Regions from separate parts of the Homo sapiens genome. Here region 2 is linked to region 1. Evidence: promoter capture Hi-C in 16 types of primary human blood cells and fetal thymus (Javierre and others, 2016). All regions are on one chromosome and are shown on one strand. The core of a region is centred on a gene start or on the middle of the fragment in contact, and the rest is flanking DNA. Distances in the headings are between cores, read along the strand shown. Region 1 holds the start of PARM1 (prostate androgen-regulated mucin-like protein 1). Region 2 holds the start of LOC100506253 (a long non-coding RNA gene).

Region 1 (6,340 bases), core at 2,213-4,712:
AGCATGGCAAACAAAGGTAAAGTTTGTTATGCGTATTTAAGTCAGAGCCCTCTCCATTGATAAGAGTTTCCAGTAATTTAGTGCCATCCTTTTCTTCCTAGAATTCAGAGGAAGACATTTTTACAAATGAAAATTTCCTTTATAGATTTAAATTCACCCTACAAAAAGGTAATTCCACTCTGTTCTCAGAGTTGCTCCTATAGCTGCTGTTTCTCAAACAAATGCTTATACTGAAAAGGCATATTCTGAAGTGGCACATTCTGGTCTTCTACAGTATCTATCTCACAAAGTTAGAGTGTAGAAATGTAAACACATGACTGTACATAAAATGCTTGAAACAATTAATAAATTTTCATCATTATTATTATTGTAGCATTTAATATAATGTTATTGCATATGTCTTTGTGATTATTCATTCAATGTTTAACTCCCCACTACTAGAAAATAAGTTTCCTGGTGCAGGGACAATTAGCCCCTGTGGCACATATCACAATGTTCCCTGCTATAGAGTTCTCGTCTCTATCTGAGCACGCAAAAATAACATGCTTTCTTGCTTTCTTGAAGTTGGGCATGGCCATTGACTTGCCTTAGCCCATAAAATATGAACAGAATTGTCACTTTTAGGTGGAAGATTTAAATACTTAATTCTCCACTTCTCTCTTTCCCTAACTCAGTGGATGTGAAACTGTTAGAGGTGGATGTGAAACTGTTAGAGGTGGAAGTTATTTGAGTCACCGGCAGAGACTGCAGCAACCTCAATTCTTGCCTCGGAAGGAAGAATATAATTGAGGGGCATAAGGCAGAATAAGAGACTGAGGCAAGTTTCAGAGCAAGAGTGGAAGTTAATTAAAAAGCTTTAGAGCAGCAAGAAAGGAAAGCACAGTTGGAAGAGGCCTAAGAGGGCATCTTGGACGTCAAGTGCCCCATTTGACCTTGCACTTAGGGTTTTACATGCTGGTCTACTTCTGGCGTCTTGCATTGCTTTAATGCCCCCAGAAGGTCATATACCAGTTAAACTCCACCATTTTGCATCTTAATGCACATGCTTGAGTTCAGTCACCCACCTCCTGAGATCTTATTGGAAGCTGCTGATTACCAGTTTCATGTGTTCCCTATTTATGGGGAGATGGTCAGTCCCTCGTGCCAGCTGTAACCAATTATTATTTTAGAGAGACAGTTAATAACTGCCTGGCCATCACATGATGGTTACCTGACTTTCCTGGTGGGGTGTGGGGGGAGCCCTCTGCTGCCCCACTCATGCCTATCTAGCTACCTACTGTAACAAAAGCAGGTTTCGATATGGCGGTACAACACTGATCCTGAGGACAGCTACTCTGAGGAGTAACCTGGATCCATAGCAGACTTTGATGAGCAAAAAATAAACCATTATCGCTTAAGCTTGGGAGACTTTGGGCTGGTTTGTTACAGCAGCATAACCTACACTACCCTGGCTATTACAACCATTGTATTTCCATTGCCTAGCATAAGGGCTGGCGTAAAATAAGTGATTAAATATGCTCTGACTAAATTAATTAATAAATTAAAATTTTTAATCAGCAATTAAAATGAACTATTTTAATCAAAGAAATTATTTCAACTCTATCCTGCGTACAATAGAAAAGTTTTGGAAATTTTCACTGATTAGTGTGTAGGGGTCATGATTCTTTGAGTACCAAACCATTATCTTAGATATCAAGGTTAGAGTTGCACATGCTTCGCACTCCAGAAAGACTCCTTCAAGTTTTGCTGAATTTCAATTGAATAAATTTTTTCTGTGAAGTGGTCTTCAAAAACCTATATTTCTGCCATAGAGTCACTTACTTAACCTGCCCTATTTAAAGGGGCTAATGCCTGATAGAATGTCGCTGCATAACTCCATCTGTGTGTGGTCCCTGCATCCATGACAACCAAAACCCAGATGCAGAAATTGTTCCTAATCACATAGATTACCCTAGAAACCGGAAGGGCCTTGAAGTCAAAAGCATTCAGAGAACATGCTGAACAAATTGAATTTGCAGTTTATCTGGCCAGGGAGGATGGAGAGGGGATGGGCACTTGGTCTGAGTATTTTTTGTTTCTCATTCCAACAGAAATTACTAGATTTACCAAAACAAAGAGAAAAAAATATGATCCAAATTTAATCTGGTTGTGGAAGTGTGAGCAAAATCTACAAGTGGTAGTGTGATAGAGTCAGGCAGAGGAATTGACCATAGATAAGGTGCTCAGGACTCCTAGAGTCAGCTTCTGGTATGTGAGAAAGAAGTGAGAACAGAGCCCATGGCATATGAAGAAGATATTACAGAAAAAAGAAAGCTGCCTTCCACGCAAATCATTTCTTTACAAAGGCTTGTTAACTCCTGCAGTGCCCCAGCTCTAGTGACTAGGGGACCAATAGGTTCATTAATAACAGAATTGGGAGAGAACCTGGCATCTGCTTTGATCGAAGTGTGAGAATTAAGCAAGCCTAAAGTGTAGCAAGAGCAGGGAGGGAACTGAATGAAAGGTCAGTTCTAATCTGTAGGCTTTGGAGAAGCTTTGGGCTCTTGAGAGGGAGTAGAGTACAGAGGCTGAGCGGGGTGCCTGGGCAGGCATCTTATCATTACTTGCGAGTTGTGTGAACTCGGGCAAGTTAAACTTCTCTGTGCTTCTACTTTCTCCCCTGAAAACGAGGATATAATCTCCAAGGATTGTTGTGAGAACTAAATGACTTGGTTGATTCCTGAACAGCACGTTGTCCAGTGCCTAGCACATAGCAATCACTCAGGAAACGTCAGCCTTTATTATGGGCCTAGTGCACAAACTATTCTTACCAGTTATGCGACCTTGAGAACATTGTCTTCTCTGTGCCTTCATTTTCTCACCTGTAAAATGGAATAATAATAATTCTTAGAAGGATTCATGAAACAACGCCTAGTAGGGTGTCTGGCTTAGTTATCCCCCCGACAGTATTTTCTTCTAGTAAGAAGCTGAATGCAGCGGCAGACATCCTGGTTCGGGCCCCAGGAAGCTCAGCCGGGTTTAATGTGGATGAGGGTTTAATGATGTACACGCAGAAGTGTTTTGACAAATGAAGAAGGTCCTCATTCTTGGAACATGTGCCGGTTCTCCGAGGGAACTCCTAAAATGGCATAAGGTCACCTTTTTAAAGGCTGTAAGCTCATGTAGGAAAAGCTGAGCTAGATTCCTAAGGGCAGAGATGTGCTCACATTTCTTTGCATCCCTAGTTCCCAGCACAGTGCAAGGCGCTGCAAACATTTGCTGAACCCAGGGTCTCGTGTCTTGACTGTCCAGCAGAGGCCGCTCTGGGCCGGGGCTCTCGGGACCTGAGGGCTGAGAGAAGGAAGGCCAGGGGGTGGCCCAGTCATCGCCGCGGGGCCCGGGTGGGAGGGGTTTGGCAGCGGCAGGCGCGGCGGCGGCGGCGGAGGCGGAGGCGGCCCCGGGCTCGGGCGGCTGGGATGGAGCAGAAGAGCGCGGAGCACCGGAGGGCACGCAGCTGACGGAGCTGCGCTGCGTTCGCCTCGTTTGCCTCGCGCCCTCCACTGGAGCTGTTCGCGCCTCCCGGCTCCCACCGCAGCCCACCCGGCAGAGGAGTCGCTACCAGCGCCCAGTGCGCTCTGTCAGTCCGCAAACTCCTTGCCGCCCGCCCCGGGCTGGGCACCAAATACCAGGCTACCATGGTCTACAAGACTCTCTTCGCTCTTTGCATCTTAACTGCAGGTAATTGGCGCCATCCTCCCGGAAGGGCAGGTCGCGGGGTGGGCCCCAGTAGCTAGCGCGTGGTCGGGGCTGAAGCTAGGAGATCCGGCAGTGAGTCGCCGCGCGCCTCCGGGTGAGTGCGCAGGTGTGTGCGCACTTAGATTTGGGGTGACGTGCACCTTTGGCGGTCCCGAACCGTACTGAGGGAGGGGACGATGGGGTCCTTCCTGCCGCAGCCCGCGCCCGCACAAACTCCAGCTTTGTAGAACAGGTGGCTGTCTTAGCTGCGTGTTCGAACCCAGAGTGGGCAACACGGACTGCGCCTCAAGGCTTCTCTTTCTTCACCAGGGTTTCGGAGCGCACTCTGCCAAAGTACGGGACCAGACTTCTTGTTGCCGTTGGGCCCTGGAAGGGATGAAAAAGCCGGGGAAGTGGGGGTGGGAGGTTCGCATCTGGGAAGGCTTCAGCAGCGGCTGCGCGCCTGGCGGGGCTGGTTTGCTTTCTCGAGTCTTGGCGGTCTCTGATCTCCGGCGTCCCTTCCTAGTTATGCTTAGGATGATGTGGCACTAACAGCAGCGGCCCGGCCTTGGTCAGGCTCGCAATCGTCACTGGGGGTAGCAAGGCTACCTTCTGCCCCAGAACTCCCCAAAAACGTATCCCATAGAAGAAACTATTAACTTGGCTAAACTAGCATCCTCTCCCCTCCCCCTGCACCACCTCTGAAAGGCTTCGTAGGAGCCACTCTCGGGTTTCGGGACCACAGACGGCGACGACCTCTGGCAGCGGGGATGGGGAAGAGGGGAGCCAGATGACTGAGCTCGGCTTGGCGGGGACCGGGGAGAGATTCAGAAAGACGCTTTGAATCTAGAGTTCAGGTACCTATTTTTTCCAGAAAACGTCTCCCGAAAAGGGACAACTGGCTGTGGATATGGTGCTGCTGGGAAAAGTAGCCCGACTGCGCGGCCACTGGCATTTTCAGTTTAAATGTGACCCAAAGTCACATAGCGCAAACCGATTCTACTCGTGCTTTAGTCTGTATATCCTCCCTCTGAGTTCGTCGGGTTCCTACAGTTGTGGACACGAGTCGTCGCAATCCCTTGAAAAGAAGCTAGCGGTTTTCAGGCAGCTCACAGTGGGTAATGCAGTTATAAGGAAAAGTTTCCCAACTTGAAACTATAGCGTATTTTCTCTACTTAGTGAACGTCCGTCTGAGAAAACCTCTTTCTCGCTGGTATCTCGGCACGGTTTGGAGACGCGTCCGCGGACAGTTCCCGAATACTCGCAGGCGGCTTTGGCTGCCCAGCCTCGGGCTGAGATGAGAGAGCCTAGGTCCGGCAGGTGCAATAGGCAGCGGAGCTCCCGGCTGGCTGCGGGTGGTAATTCCTGTAATCCTCAAAGCAGGAGATGCTTACGTAATGACACGGAAGGTACCTTTACTTCTCCTCACTCAAAAATCTTTTCTTGAGGTTCAGAAACCCTTGAGTGAGTCAGTAGAGAGGTTCGTTTGCAAATTTGATTTAGTGGCTTGTCTTGTTTATTTAATCATTTCCTTTTTTAAACAGCTCTGGCAGTTGTCAAAACCGGGATTAACCCTAACAAACAGTGTATTGTAGCTTCCCCACCCCCACCCCAAGAAGCTCTTTTTTCTTTTTTTTTTTTTTCTTTTTTCTTTTATTCAGCGTTACAGTTTAGCTCCGCTATTCCGGGAGGAATATCACCCTTGACCCACCGCTAGAGCGAGGAGACTGGTGGGCCAGGGACCGGCTGAGCACCACTCCTACCCCCACGCACTAATTAGGATCAGAGCCCAGATGGTCACAGCCTTCCAGCTGTGAGGCTCGAGACTCAGGAAGACATACTGCCTCATTTCCCTAGTTATGCTTCGATATGCATATCCCAAGCTGAAAATGATGAAGCTAATGGACACTGCATTCCCCCTGAAGTTTGTGCCTTTGAAGGAATCTCTTTAAGACGTCAGTTTGTTGTTAGAGCTACTTTGCAATAAATCGTCCGAAAAAATAATATAAAAATTGGCATAAATACCTCATGAGATTCTTTGCACCTTAATTTTAAGGTGTTTTCAGAATGTAAAATATCATTTTTAAAGAAAAAAATAGACGTGTTGGTAAAGAAGAAAGGGATGAGGGCTCTTGAAGTGAAAGTGCACACACATGTGTTTTGGGGGCTTATCCCAGAACTCCCCTAGCAAATCTCTAGTTAGTTTCACCAGGCCTTGTGTCTTTTCTGTTTCCTTCTCATTTTCCTCCTCTAGCCATAGGCTTCAACAATATTTCTGTAAAATTCTTAAGGTGATACTTTCTTGAGCCAGGAACAGCATTAGGCAGGGGCCTGTTTTTTGGCTCAACAAATCCTCTCAAAGTATACATAGTATTTCCTCCAGCACATACAATGGACACTTGCAAATATGTGTGCGTTGTCAACAAGCCAACAAGGGTAGATCTCTACATGTATTCACTCGGGTATATATAAATATATTTATATATTTTTAGACAAAGGGTCTAGCTCTGTCACCTAGACTGGAGTGCAATGGCGCGATTCCAGTTCCACTGCAACCTCGGCCTCCCCATCCTCTCATCTCAACCTCCTGAGTAGCTGGGACTACAGGTTCACACCACCATAGGCA
Region 2 (6,340 bases), core at 1,902-4,401, 250 kb after region 1:
GCCATGAGGGCGAAGCCCACAATGGATTAATGCTATTATTGACAAAGTGAGTTAGCTAACTCAGAAGCTCAGTCTTCCTTTTCTCTCTGTCTCATGCATGCTTTAACCCTCCCCTGTCCTTCCTCTCCATGTGATGCTTTCCACCATGTTATGACACAGCAAGAAAGCCTTCACCAGATGCTGCCCCTTGATCTTGGACTTTCCAGCCTCCAGAACTATGAGTCAAATAAACTTCCATTATTTGTAAATTACCCAGTGTGTGGTACTCTGCTATAGCGACAGAAAACAGACTAAGACATGGGGCAGTTTTTAATTTTGGAATACTTTTATACTTCCAGGAAAGTTGTAATAATAATATAAAGAATTTCCATGTGCATCTCAAGTATTCCTCTAGTATTATCATTTTATCACACTTTCTTTGTCATTCACATATACAAAGATATACAATTTGTTTCCTAAAACAAATTCCTCCTACATACCTCTCCTACCTATTTCACCAAATTAGAAGATATAGGTCCCAGAGAGCAAATTTCAGACAGAATATTTCTTTAGCTTTACATACTGCAGTTGTAGTTTCTAAAAATCATGATATTCTCTTCAATAATCACAGTGCAATTACCAAAATCAGACAATTAACACTGATATAATATCATTACCATTACCAATACCAAAACTATTATCCAATTTGTGGACAATTTGTAGACAAATTACATATGCAGATTTTGCCAGTTGCCCCACTAATGTGCTTTACATTGTCCAGGGATAAATCCAGAATCACAAGTTACATTTGGTTGTCATGTCTGTTTGTTCTTCTTTAATCTGAAACAGTTCATTCTTTCTTTTATTTCATGATCTCAGTATTTGAATAATTCAAACTAGTTATTGTGTAGACAAACCTTTGATTTGGGTTAGTCTGATTACCCCTTCATGATTAGATTCAGATTATGCATTTTTGACAGAAATATCATAGAAATGTTGTTATGTCCTTCTCAGGAAGCACATGATGTCTATGTGTCCCATTATTGGTGATGTGAACTTTGATCATATAGTCGAGGTGATTTCTATCAGGTTTATCCAATGTAAAGAAAGTTTTTTCTTTGAAATTAATAAATATGTTGTAGAGATATACTTTGAGACAATGTATATTAAGTATCCTGGTTTTCATCATACTCTGATTTTCGAATCTGTTTATTTTTACCTGAAACAATTATTACTATAGGGACTGCCAAATGGTGATTTTCCAAGTCCATCATTTTCTCTATCTTTATTCTTTGGGATTCTACTATAAGGAAAAGAGTTCACTTCTCCATCATTTATTTCCTCATTTATTTACTTACATTAGTATGGACTTACAGATTTTTATTTTGTTATCTGGGTTATATTCCATTATCATCAATAGTCATGATGATACTCAGATTATCTCAAATGTAGGTAATGGAAGCCTCTTTAAGCAAGCTCCTGGGTCCTTTGCAACATGTCCCCTTTATTCTTTGATCACTTTCTTGCTTTGTGGCACAGAAATGTTCCAAGTTCACTTTGTACTTTTCACGCCCTGGACCTGGAATCAGCCACTTGTGCAAGGAGACCCAGATTCTTTTAGTGGAGAATGAGATTTAGAAGCCCAGATCTAGGTCCTAGGTATGCTCATTGCTACTGAAGTATTCTTTGAAACCTTTCAAGCATTCCTAATGACAGCTATTTTAGCTGACAGATGACTTTGGAACATCTATGAGTTAATCACCCAACAGTCTCACAACCACAATCTCTACCTATGTATTACAATAACTAGGTCTCCTTCACCCCAACTTGTCCAATTGGTATACTCGAGGGCTGTTTTCAGTCATTTGGGCTTCCTAAGGATCACTTTCTCCTGGGTTGTGTTATTAATCTCCATCCAAAAGGCGAGATAGATAAGAGAGCATTCCCATCTCCTACCTACCTCTCCCATTTTGCCAAATTAGAAGATATAGGTCCCTTTCTGCCTTGAAAATTTTCTCAATCCTTCCTCCTCTCTCTCATCCCTTTTTTCACACAAATGTCTCTCACCTACATTTTATCCTGGTATTTCTTAGAAGTGACTCTGCACAGAGCTTGCTTCTCAGGGTCTCTTTATAGACTCTGGCATTTGTGGCTGGGGAGAAAAAGGAAGTAGTATAGACATCACCTTTCTCCTTTCTCTGCTTCTCTGCCACAAAAACTCATCAAACATATCCCAGGGAACTTAGAAAATAGAGAGAAATCCATCAGACCCTGAAGATTGTGAGGTTTAAGCCTTGAGACCAGTAGAATCTCATACAAGACAACAAGTAATAGTCAAAGAAAACAAGGTAAAATCGACCATATAAAAGAAAACAAAATATAATTTTTTAAGATGACTTAAAATGTATTAGACTAAAAATAATGGGGCTCCCACACAGAGAATATATTTAGGTTTAGGGTTGCATGATGTGCAGAGATCACATCAAGGAGTTCAATTTTCCATCCACAGTTCAGAGGTTAGGCTTTAGACCGTCATGGCGGAAGTCTTCAGGGAATCATTTTGAAGATAGGGAAGCAGGAACTATAGTGAAAGGATTTTTATGTAACCATGATGTATCCCACACACCTGGAAGTAGAAAAAGCAAGGAAAAATTACAAGAAGTAGTATACGAGAGTTAACTTGGGTAGTATTGAATATCTCATTAGTAAAACACTTCTCTCTATGTGTATAGATAAGTTTCCCAGTGTATATACATACTTATTTATTTTCTCCACTGAAAGGCATTTCACTATAGAGAGATAACAGAAAGAAATATACAGTTGGCTCTTGAACAACATAGAGGTTAGGGTCACTGACCCCCTGTGCAGTCAAAAATGTGTATATAATTTTGACTCCCCCAAAACTTAACTACTAATAGATTACTGTTGACTGGAAGGCTTACCGATAATATAAACAGTTGATTAACATATATTTTGTATGTTATATATACTACCTACTGTATTTTTACAATAAAGTAAGATAGGAAAAACAAAACATTATTAAGAAAATCATAAGGATGTGAAAATAAATTTGCAGTAGTGGATTGTATTTATCAATACTGTAAGTTTATGTCGTCTGTTTACAAGATGAATTGCCTATCTGAAATGGTGGGCAACTGCACCTGACATCCTCAAGCTATGGGACTTATCAAGCAACTGAGCTTTTGCTTGTAATGTCATAACTTTTCTCTGCTTCTTGGAAGCACTTCCAGCATCACTAGTCACACTTCATGTGAGTCCCATGGTGTTATTCAAGGTGTATTATATTGTACTAAACATGATGAAAAATAAACAAGAAACTTGAGAGACAGCTTTTTACTGTGATACACAATTTACTGGAGAGACAAACTGCTTACAAAGAGATGATTAGCATTAGGTGGCATTTTAAGTGGATACTTGTAACACTTGAGCTCACCACAATAGCAACAAGAGGTGGCTATAAAACTATTACAGTAGTATAGTATGCACTACAGTTAATTTTATGAAGTTATGATTTAACACTACATCTTTTTATTTGTTTACATTTCTCTCAAGTACAAATGGCACCATATACAGTCTGTGTTTGTGTATGTAAGTTTTGATAAATGTTAACTTTTAATGATAGATTAGTGTATATTATGGTAGTAAGTGATAAAATAGACTACTGTCTACATATATTTTATGCATTTATGACATACTTTTTCTTGATTTTTTCTATATTGCTATGCTTTGCAGTTTGTTTGTTTTTTTTAATTGTCAAAATCTCCAAAAAATTTTTCAATGCGTTTATGGAAAAAGAATCCACTTATAAGTGGACCTATGAAGTTCAAACCTGTGTTGCTCAAGGGTCAACTATATATATTGCAATTTTAGGTTGAAAAATATATTTTATCATTTACATTTATTTTATTTTATCAAAGATATATCTTTTATTTTATAAAATATATATTTTATTTTATCATTTACATATAAATATATATATTATCATTATTTATATATTTTTTACATATATTATCATTTATATGTAATAATAACTTAAGAAATAAGCCTATATCCTCCAAGAGATTTACAGTACTTAATTGTTGTCCAGACCTGAGTTCAACCCAGTCAATGTTCTATGTGACTCACCTTCAGAAATCTCATGTTCTGTGGACTTGTTGCCCAGGTTGAAATCCCTGCCTTCCTGCAAAGATAGAAGAGAAGTGGGAAATATAATACATTTTCTCTTCTTTCCTGGAGCCATAACTCTCCCTAGACCATGGAGAGAAAATTTCATGTCCTCTATTCAAAGATGAGAAAAATTCTAGAGTTACCCTTACACATTCAAAAATCAAGAAGAACAGGAAAGCTGAGATAACCCACAGACTCTTTGAAGGAAGCAGATTGCTCCTGCAGGGCGCCTGGAGACAGCCAAAAAACTGTGAGTGCCCAATGTGTGAAAGGGGGATTGTCTGCCCCCAAACACACACTCTCACTGGGGAACCTGAAGTTCCAGATCACGGGTAAAGGATTTGATCTTACCTGGAGCTGAGACAAATTTAGAGAGCTGAGTGAAATACAGGGGTAGAAGAAGCAGTAGGAAGACCCCTGTGGGCTCTCGGTCCCCAAGGAAGTAACTTCCGACTTTGTCTTACAGAAGTCCTTGGGGAGGGCTGCCAGAGGAACCGGGAAGAAACCACACAGGGAAGGAAACTTCCAGCTGAACTTTGTAACAATTTCGACCGAATGCAAAGTTTCCCCGACAGAAATCAGGGGAGGGGTTGAATCAGGAGTGCAATCACAGCACAGAAGCCATGGTAGGTGGGGAGAGGTGAAATCTAAAAGCCCTGCTTGCTTTCTCAGCTGGGAGGCTGGTAGCCTGGGGCAGCTTTTCAGCCCTGCTCACCCACTGCCTGGAAATAAACTTGGTGCTGTTGAGGGAGCACAGTGAAAGTGAAACCAGCCTTTTGGGCTGAGTGAGGCCTATAACTGCCAGCTTTCACCCATTTCCCTGGTGGCCTGCATGACACAGCAGAGGCAGCCATAATCCCCCGGGGGCAGAATTCCACTGGCCTGAGAACCACACCCCCCCTCCCCCGCAGTAACTGCAGTAAGACCCGCCCAAGGAGAGTCTGAAATTAGACATGCTTAACCCTGCCCCCACCTGATGGTCTTTATCTACCTGCCCTGATAGCCCAAGAAAAAGGACTTAACCTCTTGGGAGCTCTAGGGCCCCACCTACCACCTGATGCTCCCTCTACTACCTCAGCTAATGCCCTCTTGAAAGTGCCACCTCCTGACTGGAGGCCAACCAACACAAAACTACTGCAATAAACAAAACTACAACTAAGAACGCTCACAGACTCTGTTTCACTCCTCTGCCACCTCCACCAGAGCAGGTGCTGGTGTCTACAGCTGTGAGACTTAAAGATGGTTCACATCACAGGACTCTGTGTAGACAATCCTAGTACCAGGCCAGAGCCTGGCAACTCTGCTGGGTGGCTAGATCCAGAAGAGAAATAACAATCATTCCAGTTTGGCTCTCAGGAAGCCACATCCCCAGGGAAAGGAGGAGAGCACTACATCAAAAGAGCACCCCATGGGACAGAAGAATCTGAACAGCATCCCTTGAGCCCCAAATATTTCCTCTGACACAGCCTACCCAAATGAGAAGTAACCAGAAAAACAATTCTGGTAATATGACAAAACAAGGTTCTTTAACACCCCCAAAAGATCACCAGCAATAGATCCAAACCAAGATGAAATCCCTGAATTGCCAGAAAAAGAATTCAGACGGTCAATTATTAAGCTAATCAAGGAGGAATCAGAGAAAGGTGAAGTCCAACTTAATGAAATCAAAACAGTAATACAAGATATGAAGGGAAAAATCATCAGTGTAATAGATAGCATAAATAAAAAGCAATCACAACATCTAGAAGTAAAGGACACACTTAGAGAAATGTAAAATGCACTGGAAACTCTCAGCAATAGAATCAAACAAGCAGAAGAAAGAATGTCAGAGCTCAAAGACAAGGTTTTTAAATTAACCTAATCCAACAAAGAAAAAAAACAAAAAAAATTAAAAAATGAACAAAGCCTCCAAGAAGTTTGGGGTTATGTTAAATGACCAAACCTGAGAATACTGGGTGTTCCCATGGAAAAAGAGAAATGTAAAAGTTTGGAAAACATATTTGAGGGAATAATCAAGGAAAACTTCCATGACCTTGTTAGAGATCCAGACATCCAAGTACAAGAAGCTCAAAGAAAATCTGGGAAATTTATCACAAAAATATCATCACCTAGGCATAGTCATCAGGTTATCTAAAGTCAAGACAAAGGAAAGAATCTTAACAGCCATGAGTTA

What was found. Contacts are between HindIII fragments. The CHiCAGO score rates a contact against its expected background, and 5 or more counts as called.
Region 2: a fragment that was not itself captured here is called in contact with the fragment with the promoter of PARM1 in region 1 in 1 of 17 cell types (M0 macrophages); the score reaches 5.4 in M0 macrophages.

What each region holds. Positions count from the first base shown.
Region 1 is chr4:74,929,654-74,935,993 of GRCh38, forward strand. PARM1 (prostate androgen-regulated mucin-like protein 1) reads left to right here and starts at 3,463. Exons shown (of 4, transcript NM_015393.4): 1 at 3,463-3,717. The coding sequence starts at 3,675. RefSeq lists silencers at 3,297-3,606, 4,187-4,236 and an enhancer at 4,347-4,396. The HindIII fragment of the contact is 7,366 bases long and covers 2,532-6,340 here.
Region 2 is chr4:75,176,286-75,182,625 of GRCh38, forward strand. LOC100506253 (a long non-coding RNA gene) reads right to left here and starts at 5,011. Exons shown (of 3, transcript XR_109812.5): 1 at 4,519-5,011; 2 at 4,126-4,180; 3 at 370-2,605. RefSeq lists an enhancer at 4,762-5,262. The HindIII fragment of the contact is 6,697 bases long and covers 1-6,340 here.